2 separate regions of the Homo sapiens genome follow, and region 1 is linked to region 2. Evidence: promoter capture Hi-C in 16 types of primary human blood cells and fetal thymus (Javierre and others, 2016). All regions are on one chromosome and are shown on one strand. Each heading gives the region's core, a stretch centred on a gene start or on the middle of the fragment in contact. The rest is flanking DNA. Distances are from core to core; before and after follow the strand shown. Region 1 has its middle 3.9 kb from the start of RPL38. Region 2 holds the start of COG1 (component of oligomeric golgi complex 1).

Region 1 (5,728 bases), core at 2,200-4,699, 1.0 Mb before region 2:
CCTGCGGTTATCGATTTTATTTTTATCCTCCATTTTTATTTTATCTCCAACCTCCCTACAAATGTCTACATTTTATTATATTTGTTTCCCCAAAATTTAATAACCACACGGCAGAATGTAATTGCTTCGTGCTTATTATTACAGAGCGGCCCTCCTGAAGGGAAAGAACACTTTGCCATGAGCTTTACTTAGAACTTATTTAACTTAACCTTCCTTTCTTCCTCCCTCCTGCCCTTCCATTAACAAGCTCAGGCTGAGCACCTTCCTGGGGGTGCTGGAGATACAGGAACCAATAGACCTTGCTGCAGAGAGATCACAAAAATATTGTAATAACACTGAAGAGTCTTTTAAAGAAGCTGAACGATGTCTCTGCAACTGTAAATGTGTCGGGGTTCTAGCAGTGGGAAAAGTTAATTGGCAGAAGCCTAATTTTAGATGTCTGAAGGTCGGATCCGATCTGAGAAGCACGAGTGCTTCAGCTCTGACCTGAGAAGGATTTTCCCATACCTCAGAGCCCGGCTTTGCCAGCCCTTCCCATCTCAGGCGATGCCTTTCTGGTCTTTTCTACCCCACTGCTCCTCCACAAGCAACCACCCTTTCAGCCAAGCCGAGGGGCACTTTTGGGCACTTTCTGCCCTCCAGGTATTTGCTCTGCTGTCCACTCTGATGCCAAGTGCCACTGGTCCTTCCGAGCTCAGCTCCCGCCTCCCCTTTTTCAGGCAGGACCCTTCACCCTTGACTTATGTTGCTTGCCGCTCATACAGTGGTTCCTTGCAATCACTTCTCCGTAGGCTGCGTGGAGGTGTTTAACTTTTCATACATGCGCACCACTCTTTTTATTTTTAATTTTTTAAAACTTTTTTAGAGACATGGTCTCCCTAGGTTGCCCAAGCTGGTTTCGAACTCCTGGGCTCAAGGGATCCTCCTGCCTCGGCCCCCCAAAGTGCTAGGATAACAGGTGTGAGCCACTACGCCCCACCTTACCACTTTTCCTTGAAGGCAAGGACAGGGCTCAGCATTCTGTCGATAACTCTCGAAGTGCAGTACCCATCTGTACAGTAAGTGCTCAATGCTAACATTGCAGGATGATCCGGCTGGATGCGGCATCTGAGATCACTCACCATATAAAGGGGTGGTGGATGGAGGGAGGAATTCAGGGAGAGCCAGAAGGAGACACTGACGTGCCTGAAGCAGTGCCTGGCATGTAGTAGGTCCAAAAACTATTTGTTGAATGAATGACTGGTGCTTCTTGCCTCACTGCCGGCCCGACAGGACAAGGACGGGGATAGAAGGAGGAGCTGCACCTCCCTTTTGGCAGCGATCCCAGGGAGACAGATGTTCACCCTCTTGAGTTGTATAATTTAAGGGACCATAGACGTGTAGTAGCAAAACACAATGGCAAATTTGTTCAAGTACCAAAGACCTCCAGCTCCCCAAGGGGGACAAATAGCAAAATAAGCTGCAGCTACTAAAAGTGAGGCAAGGTGCCCAGAGGGCACGCTTCCCTGCTCCATGGGAAGATGAGCCCCAAATGTCCTGGAGTGGCCGGGGACTGTCAGAGACCAAGGGGGGCAGAGCCTAGGCCCTGAGTGCCACAGCCTGAGACCTTGAGCAGATGCTGACCTGGACATGAGCCTCCCTGATGACTCCCATATACACATGAAACAAAACTCTCCAGGGCCTAGGGTGGATCCTGCAGGAGAGGAAAGCCCCGGACTCGAGGGCAGGATGGCCCAGGCTGCCTGTTATGGTCGCTCTGGCCATTGGTAGGCTGGAATGTCCAGTGCTGGCAGCTGTGGGATGGTGAGGGCTATTGCTGTTGTCAAGAGGCGGTAGGGAGGGTCTCAAGCAGTGTGTTGCAGCATGGCTGGAGGCAGGAGAGGCTCAGAGGGCATGTCCGGAGCTACAGGACACAATCCAACCCTTTTCCTTCCTTCCCTTCCCTCACTCTGCTGGCTCTGGGCAGAGAGGGCCTCAGAAGTCACCGGGCCTCCCCTCCTCCCTCCAGCAGCCCCACTCTGGCCACCTCTGAAGGCCAAATGGTTTAGAGTTCTCTCTTCAGTTTTCAGGGACACATTGGAAAGAGGACCAGGATGGGTCAAAAAAACCCCAATGCCCCAGCTCGCAGGTGGGCAGAGGGCTGGCACGGCACATGGCTGGGAAGACTTCCCAACCTCCAGGATTTTCCCCCATTCAATCCATTCCGTTCACTTGGTGAACATCGGGCTGGGCTTGGGAATAAGCAGAATGCGGTTCCTGCTCCAAACACTCATGACTGTTGGGATCCCATAATAAGCTGTGGAGGATGCCCAGAGGCTAGGGGTCTAATTCCTCCTGAGGGAGTCCTGGAAGGCTTCGTGGAGGAGGGGACACAGTCTGCTGCCTCCGAGAGGGGTGCGCAGCAGCTTGCCCGGAGAAGGACTTCCAGACAGAAGGAGGGAGGGAGCTGACGTCAGCCCAGGGTCAGGAGAATGCGGGGTGTTTCTGAGAATGAGTGGGAAGTTCAGTGTGGCAGAGGTAAGGAGGGTCTGGGGCAGGGGGTCGGGGAGAAGAGGCTGGAGGGGGAGTTGGGCTGGAGTTCAGGGCCTTCAGGAGTTCCCCTTCCAGCCTCACTTATGCCCGCTGTGGTCATCGTCACCCAAGGGCCCATCCCTGGGGTCCATAGCACCTCCTTCACTGCCCAGCGGTGATCTTCCGAGCCTTAGTTTCCTGGTTTCTGTGTGTGTGTGCGTGCACGTGTGTGTATGTTTTGGGGGTGGGAGTGTGTGTGCTGTCGCCTCTCTCCCGCCTCGCAGGGTTGCAGCGAAGCTTCTATGGGGTGATTCGCAAAGCTCCAACCCGCACCTCTCAGGCAAGGCCCGCCCTGGGTGCTGTGTCCACTGGCGGCCGCACGGGGGCGCTGAGGCCGCGGCTGGAAACGGAATAGCCCCTTCCGCGCGACTCCTGGGAGCTCAGGCGGAGAGAAATGTCCATAAATTATCGGGAATATTTGTATGCGATTTCATACCTGGTGGAGTGCTTTCATATCCACCATCTCATTTAATCTCCAAGAGGCCCCTGCCTTTGGCTGCCGGCAGGGCTGGCCTTTAAACCATCTCGGAAGGGAGTTGTTTATTAAACCTTAAAGGTTGTCAGCAGGCCGGGACTCTGGTCCCTGGCACTGAACTCATTTACCTGGGAAAGGATGGGGAGTCGGGTGGCGGGGTGAGTTGGTGCTTTATTTATTTATTTTTTTGAGACAGAGCCTTGCTCTCTTGCCTAGGCTGGAGTGCAGAGGTGCAATCGCTGCTCGCTGCAGCCTCGACCTCTCGGGCTCAAGTGGTCCTCCTGCCTCAGCCTCCCAAGTAGCTGGGACCACAAGCATGTGGTCTTATATTCTTTCTTTCTTCCTTTCTTCCTTTCTTTCCTTCTTTCTTTCTTTCTTTCTCTCTCTCTCTCTTTCTTTCTTTCCTCTTTTTTTTAGAAATGGGGTCCCCTGTGTTGCCCAGGCTGGACTCTAACTCCTGGCCTCAAACGATCCTCCTGCCTTGGCCTCCCAAAGTACTGGGATTACAGGCTTGCGCCACTGTACCCGGCCCACTGGTGTTTTTTTAGAAACTGAAGATGGTGAGTTTAAAGGGATACTGGTTACTCACTCTCCCCCTGGCCCCCAAAGAGTCTGTGAGCCCCTGAGAGGTAGACAGGTTTAACATTCTCCCTGCTGCTGAGCTAGAAGCCACGAAGAAAGGCCAGGCAGACTGGAACAGGGGTTCTCACGCCCCACATGGTTGACCTTTGTGGATGGGGTCACTTTCACTTTTTGTTTAGGGGCTGAGGCTCTTCTGAGCCTTGTGAGGATCCCAGGCCCCTACTTGGTTAATGCTAGACCCTCACAATTGTGAGAAACGAAAATGTCTCTAGACATTGCCAAATGTCCCCGGGGGAAAGCAGGGCAATGCCACTTGTGGTTGAGAGCCGCTTGACTAGAAGGCCAAAACCACGAGGACATTCTTTTTCATAATGGATATCTCTGTTCTGTGCCTATGGCCAGGTAACTCATGGGCTCAGGCTACTGTCTTATTTGCACCTAGCCTAGGGTTTCAAAGCTTTTCTGTGGATGCTGTAAGGAGGACAGCCCTGGGTGCTGCCTCTGCCCGGGCTCAACGGGTGGCAAGGCGGGGTGCAGTCGGCTCTAGTTACCAGGAGCCTCGTCCCTACTCTGGGAGGCAAGGCAGCTGATGTCAGCCCAGAGCGGGTGGGGACACCTTTTCCAGTGGGAAGCCTCGGGATGGGGTGGGGAGCTGGGGTGGGAGAAGGGAGGAGAGGCATGGGGCACGTCTTTAAGGTGCCTCTAGGTACCTAAGTGGTGAAGATGCACAAATAAGATCCTGTCCCTGTTCCCATCTCAAGGGACACACAGAATAGTAAGGGAGGCAGTGATGAGGTTGGGCCCTAGGTGTAGGAAGTGTTTGGAATTGTGGGACCAGATGGAGGCCATGGGGGTCTGATACAGGCTGGGGAAGGGGTGATACAGGCCAGGAAAGTCCTCCAGGAGTAACATCGATGGTGATTCACAAAGAGGAGTAGAATATTGCTTTGTCCTGAAAACCCAACACCTCCAGAGGAGCCTGCTAGTATGTGCAAACCCTCATAGCAAATAAGTTCCAGGGTGACAAGAATGAAAGAAGCATCAGATTGAGTGGTATCAATCTAGGTGGTCTTCCTGGAGGAGGCAGTATGATAGGGTGGGAGGAAAACTCTTCCTGGAGGCAGGAAGTCTTAGATTCAAATTCAGTGTCTGGCTGGGAGAATTTGAATGAGTCTCCTGAGAGCTCTGAGCCTCAGTTTCTGTTGAGTATTAATTCCTGCTAGGATCCAGGCCACTGCGGCCAGTTGTGTGCAGCCTGCACAACTGTCTGCAGCTGCCCTGCTTATGAGAAACCAGAAGGCACCAAGAATAGAAAAATGCTTAGCCCAGCAGCCGGCTCTGTGGCTGTTAATTGAATGTGATTCCCAGGCAAGAGTTGCCAATGGATTTGGAGGAAAAAACCTGCAACCTGGTGGAGGCGTGGGCTGGAGTGGAAAGCAGCCCTCCTTGCCCAGACCTGTGAGGCTGGGGAGGGCCACTCCGAAAGCCCCGCACCATCTCCTCCATGGGGGGCAGAGTCAGTTTTGACAGATGACACCTCCCCAGCTCCCCTGCTTTTCCCTACTGGCCCCTTTCACTCCAAGAACTGCTTCCTGGGTGTCCAATCTGCAAGCACAGAAAGGACAGATGAGGCCTCATCCACCAACAGTGAGAAAAATAACACTGAGGCAGAGGAGAATGCATTTTCAGCATGAGGGACAAGCACCCCTCCTATAGATCAACATGTGCCAGGGTGAGGGGACATCAGAGTGAGAAAAAAGGGCACAGACCCTTCAAAGAGGGCTGGCCTATCGGCTTGTATATATCTTGCATTATGCGGTGGGAGAGAGGAAATCAATAGAGCTGTCAGCTGCTTCATGCATTCAGCCTCGCAGGCGTCTCCTCCTCGGGATGCTCCAGACAGATGCTTCAAATTAAAAACCAGGGAGGGGGGTGCTGGGGGTGCTGGGAGACAAACACCCTGACAGGCCAGAGGGAAAGGAGGGAAGCCACTGAGGATCTGGGGAAATTAAAGTCCATAAATCACGAGCGTCCCGGGCGTGAATGACACGAGCGTCTTAGCAGTAGTGCTGGACGGGTTGTGGGTCCTTCTGCTAGGCA
Region 2 (5,928 bases), core at 1,237-3,736:
TTGGGCTCAAGAGATCTTCCCACTTCAGCCTTCCAAGTAGCTGGGACCACAGGCATGTGCCACCATGCCCGCTCACTTTTTGGTATTTTTTGTAGAGATGGTGTTTCACCGTGTTGCCCAGGTTGGTTTCAAACTCCTGTGATCAAGCAATCCACCTGCCTTGGCCTCCCAAAGTGCTGGCATGAGCCACAGCGCCTGACCTGTTATTCTAAATTTTTTTACATTTTTTTCTCGTCAAGTTTCCATGGATTTATTTCCTCGACCAGGTTGTAAGCTCCTTCAGAGCAGGAATTGGGGGACTTCTGTTTCTTTGTAATGTGAACGAAGAAGACACTCAAATTTTTGTAGGGTTAACCGAGAATAAACCAGATATAACAACTATGAAAATCAATACGTTTCTAAAATCAGGCATAATTCAAGTTAGCGTTTTAATAAACCCTGAAGCATGACTCAGTTACAGCAAAGGCTGGCCACCTAAGGGGACACGTGTACTAAATGTTAGCTTTGGGAGGGATGAGGTCACTCATTTCAAAAATATGCAAACTTATTTGCAACTTCCTATAGTTTTATTGTGTCAGTCCAGTCTACTGACCAGGATTTCTGTAAAGCTCAGATAGCATGAACAAGTTCCAAATTGGAGTTAGACTGTACTTTTCAATTTTTTCTTCTATGTCCCAGTAAGTTCTCCCAGGCTGTTAAAAACAACTAACTGTTTACCTTTTTCACCCTTCATGCCCTTTCACTTCGTTCATTGCTAGGTCTATATTCTTTAAGGGGCCGTGCGCGGTGGCTCTCGCGCCTGTAATCCCATCACTTTGGGAGGCCAAGGCAGGCAGATCACATGAGGTCAGGGGTTGGAGACCAGCCGGGCCAATATGGTGAAACCCCGTCTCTACTGAAAGTACAAAAATTAGTCGGACATGGTGGCAGGTGCCTGTAATCCCAGCTACGCGGGTGGCTGAGGCAGGAGAATCGCTTGAACCCGGGAGGCGGAGGTTGCAGTGAGCCGAGATCGCGCCACTGCACTCCAGCCTGGGTGACAGAGCGAGATCCTGTCTCAAAAAATAAAGAAATAAAAATTCTTTTTTTTTTTTTTTTTGAGACAGAGTCTCGCTCTGTGGCCCAGGCTGGAGTGCAGTGGCGCGATCTCGGCTCACTGCAAGCTCCGCCTCCCGGGTTCATGCCATTCTCCTGCCTCAGCCTCCCAGGTAGCTGGGACTACAGGCGCCGGCCACCACGCCTGGCTAATTTTGTGTATTTTTAGTAGAGACGGGGTTTCACCGTGTTAGCCAGGATGGTCTGGATCTCCTGACCTCGTGATCCACCCGCCTCGGCCTCCCAAAGTGCTGGGATTACAGGCGTGAGCCACCGCACCCGGCCAATAAAAATTCTTTAGGAACGCAAGCTGCAGCTCCAATATGAGGATGTGTTTGTTTACCTCCCATCCTTCCTCATTGTGTCTAATCAATAGCGTTTGGGGGGAAGAACACGGGATAAGGAGAACCTGAATGAAAAAAGCCTTAGTTCTGAAAATGAAAATGTTCAGCTATTAAAAGGTAAGGGCTTGGCCGGCTGTGGTGGCTCATGACTGTAATCCCAGCACTTTGGGAGACCCTGTCACATACATACATAAAGTTAAGGGCTTGATAGCTGGTACCCTCAACAACTCCCAAAGGGTAGAACAGCTATTTGGGGTTGTGGAAGTTATTCTTGGGGAGATAAGGGGAAGGTTGGGATGAGGAAGAAATGACTTGGAGTGCAGGTGTCAACATAGGGGAGAAACCTGAGGAAAAACAATGTCAGGACATGTTATATAGGTGAGCGTTGAACTGTCAAGACAGAAACTCCTGGCGTTTTCCGCTAAAATTGAAAGGAGCCCAGTGAGGTGTAGGAATCAAGGCCCGGAAGTCGGGGGAAAGCGCCTGAAGAAACTGTTGAATGGCATTTCCAGAACGGATCAGCAGCCGCATATGTGCAAGGAAGGCTGGCACTGTCCTCTGAGGGGGGCCCAAAGGGTGAGGGGCGGATAGGCTCCTGGCTAAGGAAGGTGAGGACTCGCGGGGTCTGGGACTGACAGAGGGGGGCGGGGTTGACCTGCAAGGCCAGGGGCTCCGGGACCCGCCTGCGGGTCGCAGGGTGGGGGCACGGGGACTGACCTGCTGGGCCCGCGGTGGCCGGGGCGCGGCCGAGCCGGCCTGGCGGAGGCGGGCGCAGTACTGGTCGGTGGCCTTCACGGCGTCCACTAGCCCCACGGCGCAGCGGCGCATCTGGCCGATGGTGTCGGCCGCCTCGATCAGGTCGCGGTACCGTTCGCCCACCATCTGCCGCAGCTCCTCCTTCTTGTGCTCGATCTCGGCCCGAACCTGGCGCTCCAGCCCGCGGATCTCCTCCGCTCCATGCGTCTCGAAAAGAGCCGCAGGGTCGCGCAGATCCAGCCGCTTCAGCGCGGGTGAGGTTGCCGCGGTGGCCATGGTGCACTCGTCAGCCCCCGGCGATCTACCTACGCCCTTTTAGTCCCGCCCCCTCCGCCATCTTCGTTGGGGGCGGAAGCGCTTCCGCCCCGCCGGGGGCCATGTTTGTTACCCGAGGGGGCGGGCGCGAGGGGGCGGGCGCGAGGGGGCGGGCGCGAGGGGGCGGGCGCGAGGGGGCGGGCGCGAGGGGGCGGGCGCGAGGGGGCGGGCGCGAGGGGGCGGGGGCGGGCGCGGGCGCGGGGGCGGGCGCGGTCCTGCGCGGGGTTTTCTTAAACGGAGCCGGCTGGGAAGTGAGGTCGCCAGAGAGGTGAGGTCGCCAGGTTGGCTGCGAAACTGTGGCTGAAGTCTTCCCTTTCCCTTAGGAGCAGAGCTTCTCTGTGGAGTTAGGTGTCGGGATCGGGCCCCGCGGACTGACGGCGTTGGCGCAGGCGCAGCCGCCGCTCTCCGCGCGCCTGGCGCCCGCGAGCAGACTCGGGCGCGCTCGCCGCCGCTGGGTCTCGGATCGCACCCCGCGTGCAGTTTTAGGAAGAGGGACATCCGCGCCCCTCGCTGTTCCCCGGGAAGAGCTACCACGCCGCCCCTGAAGGGGTTCTGAGCGCTTGTTTGGCGTCTGCTTTTCCTCTGCTGTTGATTCGTGTTGGAGGTTTTCCATTTCGTTTAAAACCGATGTTTAGCCCCTGAAGACGTTTTCCCTGCGAGAGCCTGACCTTGGTGGCCATGGGGGAGGAGGGCGGCGGGCTGGGCGGGAGAGGCTGGGACGCCCCGGGGAACGCAGCGCCAGACGGGTGGGCGCTCCTCACGTGGCCCAGGAATAGTAGAATCTGGAGATTGTGGCTTGTTTCTGCTAAGTCCCAGACCCTTCTTTTTTTTTTTTTCTGTTTTAATTTCTTTTGGAAGATTTCACCCACACCAGTGTCGACAAAATGATGCAATGTGCGCAGCGGCCATGCTGAGCCCCCAGCAACTCAGGGCCTACCCTGCATCCCTGCTCATTCCCTCTCCCACCCGCCACCTCCGGACGCACAGAATTTCAATCTGCAAATAAATGGTGCATTTATAATATTCCAGTTTAACCCGCAAGAGCCTTGCGGCGTAGGGAGTATCATTCTCACTTTACAGACTCATTTTACAGATGGGGAAACGGGGGCCCGGAGAGGCAAAGGGTTTTTTACTCAGTAAAAGTGCAGTTTTCAGAGCCTGTCCACGAGATTATCTCATTTTCTCGCACATCGGCCATGCCAGGTAGGTAGGAGTAATATTCCTAGTCCATTTATGAGGAAAAAAAAAAAAGAAACAAAAGCTTATTTACCTGCCCAAATTACATAGCTGATAGGTGACCCAGTGAGTATTTGGACGTCGATTTTTAAATTACTGGCTCGCGCTCTTTTCTACGTTTTCACATAATTTCCCACAGAGCACCCTCTGTTGGCAGGCCTGCAGTTTGCAGTCTCTAATCCCATTCTGCAAGGGACACTTACTGGTATTCGGCTGATAAGCATCCGCAGTATCTCCTTTCTGTGATTGGGGAATTCATCGCTATCTAGCAAAATCTTTTTTTCTGGCGCCCTTTATAGCTACGGTGCCAGCCTGCGGCCTGGGACTGGCACAGCAGGCACAAGCGCCTAGGACTTGGGTGAAGAGTTAGTGACATTAAGAAGCAGGCTGTAATCCCAGCACTTTGGGAGCCCAAGGCGTGTGGATCCCTTGAGCCCAGGAGTTCAAGACCAGCCTGGGCAACACGGCCAAACCCCGTCCTTACAAAAAAATACAAAAAAAGGGGCGCGCGCCGGGTGGCTCATGCCTGTAATCCCAGCACTTTGGGAGGCCGAGGCAGGCGGATCACATGAGGTCAGGAGTTCGAGACCAGCCTGGCCAACATGGTGATACCCTGTCTCTACTAAAAATACAAAAATTAGCTGGGCGTGGTGGCGCACATCTATAATCCCAGCTACTCGGGAGGCTGAGGCAGCAGACAGGAAGCTGAGGCAGGAGAATCACTTGAACCTGGGAGACGGAGGTTGCAGTGAGCCGAGATCGAGACACTGCACTCCAGCCTGAGCGACAGAGTGAGGCTCCGTCTCAAAAAAAAAAAGAAAAAGAAAATTAGCCGGGAGTAGTGGTGTGGGCCTGTGGACCTGTAGTCCCAGCCACTTGACAAGAGGCAAGTGAGGCAAGAGGATCACTTGAGCCTCTGGAGGTCGAGACTGCGTCAGTGAGCCATGATTGGGCCACTGCATTCCAGCCTAGACAACAGAACAAGACCCTGTCTCAAAAAAAAAAAAAAAAAAAAATCGCAGGTGACAGGGGCGATTGCATTTTGGTGGTGGCACAGGTATCACCGGCAACATCCACTCCCTAAGGACAGCAAGGGCAGTGAACTTAGCTCCAGCTCCCAGCTGCTAATGCTGGCGGTGGTGCTGGTGGCAGCCGTGGGCACCCACAATGACGTCCTCGACAGAATCACCATGTGGTGTGCTCGTCTAGGTTTTAAATGTTCTGTTTCCCTTCCTTCCTTCCTGCCTGTCCCCTGAACCTGCCTCCCCATCTTTCCCAGAGATTCTATGAACTGTGCAGTGTCTTACTGATCAATTTTGTTTCTTTGAAAATCAAAATCGGTTTCCCTGGTTTGCCCTAGCCCTAACTGATATACACTGCACTAAGGTTCCAGCTCCATGAGAGTTTGGTTGAAGCCTTTCTTACAGCAAGGGGAGAAATGTCAACATATCAGGGATAGTGGGGGGCCCAGGGCTTTGTATGGGATGGTCCTTGCGCTTGTGCACAATACCTGTAAGCTCAGGTAGAGAAAAGACAAACTGGCCAGCTGTCAACACTGCAGTGTGTGTGTGTGTGTGTGTGTGTGTGTGTGTGTGTGTTCTGAGTCAGGTAGAGAAAAGACAAACTGGCCAGCTGTCAACACTGCAGTGTGTGTGTGTGTCTGTGTGTGTTTGTGTGTGTTCTGAGACAGGGTCTCACTGTTGCCCAGGCTGGAGTGCAGGGGTGCAATCACGGCTCACTGAAGCCTCCACCTCTTGGGCTCAAGCAATCCTCCCACCTCTGCCTCCCTAGTAGCTGGGATTAACAGGTGTGCACCACCATGCCCGGCTAATTTTTTAATTTTTGTGTAAAGACAGGGCCTCACTCTGTTGCCCAGGCTGGTCTCAAACTCTTGGGCTAGAGGGATCCTCCCACCTCAGCCTCCCAAAGTGCTCGGGTTACAGGTGTGAGCCACCTCACCTAGTCCAGAGTGTGGTTTGAAATCAGGGTGTTCCCTGCCTTTCCTCTGTATTTCCCTGGCCAAGTTCATCTGACTGGCCTGAAGATGCCACTGTTGTTCCTCTGCCTGCAGAACTGAGCACTGACAGAAGCTGTCACCTGACTGCCTGGTCACTGGAAAAGCTCCTGGCCCTGGAGGAAATGTGTCTTTAACTCTTTCCTCTCCATGGCTCCTTTCCTTGTC

The links. Contacts are between HindIII fragments. The CHiCAGO score rates a contact against its expected background, and 5 or more counts as called.
Region 1: a fragment that was not itself captured here is called in contact with the fragment with the promoter of COG1 in region 2 in 2 of 17 cell types (activated CD4 T cells and naive CD4 T cells); the score reaches 5.7 in activated CD4 T cells.

The regions. Positions count from the first base shown.
Region 1 is chr17:74,196,962-74,202,689 of GRCh38, reverse strand. No RefSeq gene overlaps it. Among named protein-coding and RNA genes, the nearest start is that of RPL38, 3.9 kb to the left of the region's middle. RefSeq lists a silencer at 2,731-2,780 and an enhancer at 5,260-5,728. The HindIII fragment of the contact is 1,277 bases long and covers 2,811-4,087 here.
Region 2 is chr17:73,189,613-73,195,540 of GRCh38, reverse strand. It overlaps COG1 (component of oligomeric golgi complex 1), which reads right to left and starts at 2,486. Exons shown (of 14, transcript NM_018714.3): 1 at 2,157-2,486. The coding sequence starts at 2,471. RefSeq lists a silencer at 1,995-2,204 and enhancers at 2,255-2,534, 3,165-3,214, 2,500-3,259. The HindIII fragment of the contact is 5,644 bases long and covers 1-3,773 here.